Regions from separate parts of the Homo sapiens genome. Here region 2 is linked to region 1. The links are contacts of gene promoters, found by promoter capture Hi-C in blood cells and fetal thymus (Javierre and others, 2016). All regions are on one chromosome and are shown on one strand. The core of a region is centred on a gene start or on the middle of the fragment in contact, and the rest is flanking DNA. Distances in the headings are between cores, read along the strand shown. Region 1 holds the start of ZNF619 (zinc finger protein 619). Region 2 overlaps CTNNB1 (catenin beta 1).

Region 1 (4,092 bases), core at 571-3,070:
GAAAGAGTTATGGACTGGGCACGGTGGCTCACGCCTGTAATCCCAGCACTTTGGGAGGCCGAGGCGGGCGGATCACGAGGTCAGGAGATCGAGACCATCCTGGCTAACACGGTGAAACCCCGTCTCTACTAAAAATACAAAAAATTAGCTGGGCATGGTGGCGGGCGCCTGTAGTTCCAGCTACTCAGGAGGCTGAGGCAGGAGAATGGCATGAGCCCGGGAGGCAGAGCTTGCAGTGAGCCGAGATCGCGCCACTGCACTGCAGCCTGGGCGACAGAGCAAGACTCTGTCTCAAAAAAAAAAAAAAAAAAAAAAAGTTATTAGCTAAAGACCTGGAATCAATTGAAGGGAATGTCTGAGTTAAGATAAGGGGTTTTGGAGACCAATGTTCTTATTATGCAGATGAAACCTCCAGGTAGCAGGCTTCAGAGAGAAACGATTGTAAATGTTTCTTACCAGACTTCAAAAGGTGCCAAACTCTTAGTTAATTCTCTACTGGATCAAGGAAAACACTTTGAAAGTGAAGGGGATTCTTTACAGGATGTAGATTTTCTTCACAAAAGACAGCTTTACAGGGTCATTTCAAAATATGTCAAAGAAATACATTTTAGGGTAAAATACTTCAGTTTATTTCAGGGCCTGTTATCTGTCACATGAGACTATACTAGAGTCAGGTTAGAATTTGATGTCTTATTGCTATAAAGAGTTTGTTTTGGGCTGGGCGTGGTGGCTCACGCCTGTAATCCCAGCACTTTGGGAGGCCGAGGCGGGCGATCACGAGGTCTAGTTCAAGACCAGCCTGGTCAACATGGTGAAATCCCGTCTCTACTAAGAATACAAAAATTAGCCGGGCGTGTTGGCACGTTCCTGTAATCCCAGCTACTCAGGAGGCTGAGGCAGGAGAATTGCTTGAACCCGGGAGGCGGAGGTTGCAGTGAGCCGAGATCGGGAAACTGTACTCCAGCCTGGGCTACAGAGTAAGACTCCATCTCGGAAAAAAAAAAAAAAAGTTTTAGTCAGTCTCAAGATCTCTGTTTTAATGTTAATGCTGGTCCGTAGTGCCTGAATTCCAAGGGCATAACGAGGCAAGTCCGATCCCCTGCTTCCCATCATGGCCTGAACTAGATTGCCAGGTTTTCTTTGGAATGTTTTGGCTGAGAGAAGTGGTCCATTCAGTTGGTTGGGGGACTTAGAATTTTATTTTTGGTTTACAAAACTGTTGCATGAATTGACTCAGTTAATTCACTGAATTTATAAATTACAAACTTTTACCATTCTCAACTGATAAATTGAGGCAACGATTTAAGTATAACTTGAGCAAGTCCATATAGAGTGGAGCCAGGAACGCAGACAATGAGACACCATACCCCATGGTCTTAGGTCACAGTCATTCAGTGGGAGACAGGGGCTATAAATTCATTAGAAGGTTAAGTTAGGAATTAAGTAATTAGGTAAGGAATTAGGAATTCAGTTAATTAAGTTACAAATTGTTAAATATGGAGGAATTTATCATGTAGTTGGGGTACTAAGACATAAGAGAAAATAATAAAGAAAAACAGGAGCGGCCGGGCGCGGTGGCTCACGCCTGTATTCCCAGCACTTTGGGAGGCCGAGGCGGGCGGACAGCTTGAGCTCAGGAGTTCGAGAACAGCCTGCGCAACATAGCGAGACCCCCGTTTCAAAAAACACACGAAAAAATTAAAATTAAAAAACAAACAAACCAGGCGCAGAGCGGTTGTGGAGAAGGGAAGCGAAGGGTTGGAGTTTCGTTTCGTGGGAACCATAGAGAAGGGCCAGCCTCCCGGCTTCCTAGAGAGGCTGTAGGGACCGACGGCCGGCCAGCTAATGCTTCCGTCTTGGCCACCTTGCGAGCGCTCGGGTTGAGTTTCCCGGGCTTCCCTGACTCGGCTACCTGTTCTGGAGGTCAGGCTTTGGGCCCTTGCAGAGGTCGCCGAGGGGCCCGCGCCGCCGCCAGAGCCTGGGCCCAGTCCCCAGTCTTCAGAGACGCCCTCGACCTTCCTGCTCCGAGGAGCTGGCCTGATGTCCTCGGGTCGCGGTATTCATGGGGAGGATGGGAGCCGTGACTATAGGGTCTCCTGCTTCCCAGGGTGGAGCGTTCAGATCCCGGTTAGGTCTTCGGTCAGCATCACCCGCTGGGACATTAAGCGTCTTACCCTTGTCACCCGGGGCTGGGTCACCACTTATATTTTGTCCTGCAGCCTGTGGTTTGTTTAGGGGTCCCCGTTATATCCTACTTTCTCTCCAGAGACTTGTTTTGGGTTTTTGCCATGAACACTAGAAGCATTCAATACAAACTGTTTAGTAATGCATTCATAGTGGGGCCAAGAATTTTTTTTAAAAAACAGCCACGAATCCACTGCAGTTCTTGACTCTTACTTTACAGATATTCTTTCTAGAGTTTCCAGTGTCACCAAGCAGATCTATAGGAGAATATGCAGAGGGAGCATTTGCAACATCCCATGAATCAGTGGAGAGGGTGAATGACAGCAGCTAGTGTGCCAAGAATATCTGCAATGCTAGTGGCAGGAGACAGAGGGGAAGAGGCGGCAAGTGTAGGAGACGAGACAGATCAGTCTCATTGTGGTTCTCTCTTAGCTCCGCAGGTTCTTACTTTTTCAAACCTAGAGGGCAGTGCATGAAGCCAGGGGTCATCAGCCATGCTCCAGACAGTGTGGTTCCAGGTGAGCAGAGCTTTCTTTCAGCTTTCCATACTCAGAACAGATATGGAAGGTCAGTACAGCCCCAGTAGCCTGACTTGGCCAGTCTCATGCTTAGTTTTACATCCTTCAATAAAGTATGTAAAAACAGTATGCGAGGGGAGTTGACGAACGAGAGTAGGTGAATTTGGGAGAGTCAGGTAGGTTGGAAAAGAAGGAATGAATTATCCTAGAAAGTGGGAATCTGCATTCATGAGAACTGAAAGTGTGGCCTGGAGATGAGCAGCTTTTGCATTACAGAGGGCTCTTGTTAGGCAAAATGTCAGGCCCCCTCCCCAGATCTCCTAAATCAGAATCTACATTTTTACAAGATCTGGAAAATTAAAGGGCAGATTAAAATTTGAGGAGTGCTAGTCTGCGTTCACAGTACACAAAGAAAAGCCATTTCTGAGGTTAAATAGACACTTCCAAGGGAGGAGTTTACCCTGCAGACCACTCAGTTAAGGTACAGTGAAGCCAGAACTGGAAACATGTGGAAAATGTAGATTGATGAGGGAGATGTATTTTTGGAGGAATGATGAGTTTGGAGCTGAAGCCAGTGCCTTTAGCTCAATGCGAAGACGTCAGTCTAACCTCTGTGAGAGTCTATATCCTTTCTTGGCTACAAATTCATGTAGCATTGGGAGGACTTTTCCCTCCAGTTTTCTTGGTGGTAGATGATGGTTTTACTGGATTTTTCTCCAGTGTCCTAGATCATGGAATGAGAAAGCTGAGTTTATCATGTAATGGATGTATCTTGTAATGAGAAAGCTCCATCCCAAGGACTTAAAAACAATGTGTGTGTCCTTTTGGTGGATATTGGACCATCCACTTCTGTTCGAGAACTTCAGCAAAAATTCATTCCTACAAGTCAGGAAGTGTGCTGTGGGGGTATGCTGTGCTCTCCTGGTGCTTTGCCTGAAGTACAGAAATCACTTAGGATTAGATTCCCCAAAGAGGACCCCAAATGACAGTGGATTAAACGAGGTAAAGGCTTCTCTCTCATACAAAAGTATCAAGAGTCAATACAGGGCTAGTGTGGCAGCTCCCCTATTATGCTCTCAGGCTCTGTCTTTCTGCTCTACCATCCTAGCAGTGTCTCACCTGCTCTAGGCCACTTTATTGTCCAAGGTGGCTGCTTGATCTCTAGCCATCATGTGTGCATTCCAGCTAGAAGAGGAGCTGCCCAAAAAAAGATGAACCTCTCTCTTTTAGGAACCTTCCCATAAGTCCCCAACAATATTTATACTTGCATTTCATTGGCCCCACTTGGTTGCCCGGGTTGAGTGCAACCTCAAGTAAAATTAGGATTCCAATACTAAGAAAGAAAGGGGGTACACACACACCTGTCAGTCTTTGCTACAATCTCTAAGAG
Region 2 (4,092 bases), core at 1,048-3,547, 730 kb after region 1:
TTGTTAAATTATTAGGTTTGTATTTATTTAGGCACTTGGGAAATGCCTTGTGTCAATTGATTATAGATTAGGAGCTTAAAAGCAAGATTTATATTATCAACTTATTTGTGAAGACTGGGAAACCCACATTTTTAAAGTTAGGAATTAAGATGGCCAGGTTCAAGGAAAAGGGGGAGAAGTAACTTTCTTATTACTCAACCATCTTAAATAGAGTTCTTTAAGTGTATTTTTAAGAGGTCTCAAAACTTAATCTGAAGGGACGTCAAATGCTGGACAAATTCTGTGTATACAACTCAAGTCAGCCCCCAATTTTACTGGTCTTTAAATCATGTCCTTTTTACCAGAAGTTTGCATTTCTAAGCTAAACTATTACTGTTAGACTAGATCCAAAACTTAAAAACAGTTTAGGTAATTAAAAATTAATTGAATATAAACGTTTTACTTAAATTAATGGCAAATGGCTTTTTGGCCAATTTAAGTTTATGTAGGCAGTTAAATCGATTTTGGTTAAATCTTTTGCTGCTAACAAGGTATTTCCAGATTTTGAAAAGTGGGGTGGCCTGGTGCCTGTAGTACCAGCACTTTGGGAGGCTGGGGAGGGTGGATCACCTGAGGTCAGGAGTTCGAGACTAGCCTGGCCGACGTGGTGAATACAAAAATTAGCCAGGCATGGTGGCAGGTGCCTGTGATCCCAGCTGCTTGGAAGTCTGAAGCATGAGAATTGCTTGAACCTGGGAAGCGGAGGTTGCAGTGAGCTGAGATCACGCCACTGCACTCCAGCTGGGGCAACAGAGCGAGACTCCATCTCAAGAAAGAAAAGTGGGGTGTTTAGTCTTCAAACTCCGTGTTTAAGTGACTGGAGTGAAAATGTAAATCATAGGCCGGTGTTGGTTTAAAAAGCATCATCTGAAAATAATGCTGTAGTCTGCAATTATTTTTATTACGATACGATGGTGTAAAATACAAGCAGATCAGTGAACCATTCATGAAACATTAATCCTAAAGGCGTCTCACCCCAAGTCTATCCCACAATCTCCATGAGACTTCGTGGAACCACTGTAAAGTTTCTTGTGTAATATCCCAGAAGTTTCCTACCTCTGGTATCTTTTGAACTTGTTGAAAAGGCTTTTCCACCCCCTCTTTATGATGGTTTGAAGAGTGTGAACATCTGAATGATGCTGGGGTGAAACTGCTTCATAACACTTCCATTTTCTCCCCTATTTATTTCCATATTTTTATTTTTTCACTAATATCCCCACGGTTTTACTTCTGTTTTAGTAATTCACATGTTGCTGGACTAATTCTTTTTAACTGACTTGTAACAGATATGTTAAACCGTTTAAAACTTGGGGGGTATTTTTAACCTACTTTAAGTTAGTTCAAGTTAATCAGTCTACATGGCATATAAACCTTATGATTAATAAATCTTAAATGCTGGTAGCTGAGTTGGAAGCCAAAGACGTACAAAAAAGCTGAAGTGTTAGGTTTAGTGTGATAAGCTTCTCTTACTAACAGGGTTTTGTAATAGCAGAAATAGATATATGCATATATATGTGCATATATATAGCATACCTTATTGGATGTCCATATAAAAATGTGTAAGAAGTTAAATTTACTGCAAAATTTCTTGGGAGTGCAATTTGAAGATGATCTTAAGTGGTGATAGTAGTTTGCTACACTGGGGGATAGTTGTTGCAAACTGCTCCTAATTTTCCTTTACTGTGAAGTAAACTGAACAGCTGTAATAGGGATTAGGAACTGTACTCCCTCTCTCTCTTTTTTAAGTATAATTAAGTGGTTTTGGGGTAAGGGTGTAGGGAGTGAGTGTCTTTGAAGTTTTGCATATACTAGATGAATGCCACATGTATAAGGGAGGAACAAGGGATTCTTGGAAATATTTTTCAATCCAAGTAACTTTGGAGGCTTCCAAGTGGAGTTCATTCCCCTGTGTAGGAAAGTGCTGGGGTAGACCCTTAAATTCCTTTCTGAGCCATTGAAAGAATGTCCTCAAACTTCGCTTATACTTTATAGTTCATTTAGATACAAAAGTTACAAACTGAATGCTATTTAGGAAACGTAATACACTGACATACCGCTCTTTAAATAGATTATAAATTTAGTATATCAATTTTCTGGCATTTTGCTGAATTTTATTGTTTAGTTTTCAAGCCCAACTATCTTGTTACTTTGTATATCGTAGTTGTCCCCCGTTGATCACTGTTTCCTGCTTAATTGTGCTGTCGTTTTTCCTGGGTCCTGATTCAGAGTGTCAGCATTCTGTTCCCCATAGAATAAGAAGAGGCTAGAAAGTTTACAGATGAGATATCTAGGAATGCCAGAAGATCAGGGGTCACCGTTGAGGCAGAGTAATTAATTATGGTTAAAATGGTGTTGCTGATAAGTGGGTGCTGGGAAATAATTAAAATTTGATTTTTTAGAAGAATACTTCTCATGCTTGAAGAGCGCCCTCATTATATGCTAAAGGGCCTCAGGTTTTTCCTTATTGCCATTATGCTGCAGATTCTATTACATTTGTCTGAAAAGATCTAAGACAGAAGGGCTGTTTAATACCTTCCCTTTTCTCCTGAACTTCCCCTCTCCTCTCCCCCATCAGGAGCTAAGTAGGAACCCCTTCACCTTGTTACCATCAGATTTCATCAATGGTCTGTCTTTACAATGAAGGAAGTAGTACTGCATTCTGGGCAGAGGCCAGTCCTGAGGCATGCCTTTTCAAGGACATTGTTACTTTAGTTACACTGGCTCTTCTGTTTTAACTCTTATCCCCCAGACTCTAATCCTGTTGCTTTTTTTGGTCCCCATCTCCCACCTTTCATCATCTGAAATCCATTCATTGTAACTTCTGGAACTCAGTCGTTAGAAAATCCTTTATATTCTCAATCTTGTGAATGTTCCTTTCTTTCTTATTCCAGCTGTAACCTAGCCTTCTCCCCAAGAATGCTACTTCCCTTGCAGCTCTCTCAAGTGGTGAATTTTTCCCTTCTTGCACACCTTATAACACTGAACTAGGAGGTGTGTGGACTAAATGTCTGCTTTTGTTCCTTATTGTCACTTCTTGACCTTTATTTTCCAAAACTTCAAGCTTTGACTTTCATGTGATCAAATTATACCACCCACTGCCTGTCTTTATTTCAAGCACCTGCAAACCTTCCTGGGTCATTCACATCCTTCTTTGTTCACTTCATTAGCTCTTGGCTCATTGTCACTGTCTCTTATTTCTGTCATAATTCTTGGTGACATCAGTATCTATGTAGAGCAATACTAGTGAAGATGTGGTCTGGTAACTGTTACCTGTATGAATTAAGATAAGGAGTTATGCCAGAATATAAGTCACCTGTGTCACTAAGTTTACTGTTTAGCTTACTTTTTTTGTAGCAAGATTTTGATGAAGGACGCAATATGTTGATTTACAGTCTGGTACAAATTTTGATGTAGAAGATGCTTCCAATATCCTGGTCTCTTAGTTCCTTGATTTCTTCTCCAGTGATCTTATTTTCTACCCTAACTCAACTACATATTCCCATTGTCATATCCTAGAATATTTTGTCTTTTATCTGTAACTCTGCTCTCTTCCCCCAATCTCATTTCAAGCATCCCACTTTCTAATTCCTCTAGTAAATACGTCAGTTCCAACAGCCCATCAATCCCATTGGGACCTACAGTTTATCTATCCAAGCTTTTCCCTGTTCCTCACCCTCACTTCTATACAGCTGAAGTTTCATACTGAATTATAATCACTTTCTCGTATACACGTTTAACAATCTTGTCCCTCCCTGGCTTCATGCCCAGTGATCTCTTGTATCTATGACCATGTCCTTTATCTTCTCCTCTGTCACTGGATGAACTGTAGCCTTCCAAGATAAGGCCACTCAGTTCATTTGTACAGCAGATTCCATCCCCTCTTGCTCTCAAGAATATTACTGTGGTATCTCTCTTTTCTTGTCTCTACTGGCTCTTTCCATGAGCAAACATGGTATTATCCCATTACAAAAAAAATTTTTTCTCCGTCTCTCCTTCCACTCACCACCTCAGTCTCTGCTTCTCTTTCCCGCAAAATAACCTTGAAAAATTGCT

The links. The method cuts DNA at HindIII sites, captures the fragments that hold promoters and counts their contacts. A CHiCAGO score of 5 or more calls a contact.
Region 2: a fragment that was not itself captured here is called in contact with the fragment with the promoter of ZNF619 in region 1 in 1 of 17 cell types (total CD4 T cells); the score reaches 6.4 in total CD4 T cells.

The regions. Positions count from the first base shown.
Region 1 is chr3:40,475,302-40,479,393 of GRCh38, forward strand. It overlaps ZNF619 (zinc finger protein 619), which reads left to right and starts at 1,821. Exons shown (of 5, transcript NM_001145093.4): 1 at 1,821-2,056; 2 at 2,617-2,702. The coding sequence starts at 2,679. RefSeq lists an enhancer at 1,995-2,134. The HindIII fragment of the contact is 7,181 bases long and covers 1-4,092 here.
Region 2 is chr3:41,204,868-41,208,959 of GRCh38, forward strand. The region is part of intron 1 of CTNNB1 (catenin beta 1); the gene reads left to right. Among named protein-coding and RNA genes, the nearest start is that of CTNNB1, 7.4 kb to the left of the region's middle. The HindIII fragment of the contact is 1,601 bases long and covers 1,498-3,098 here.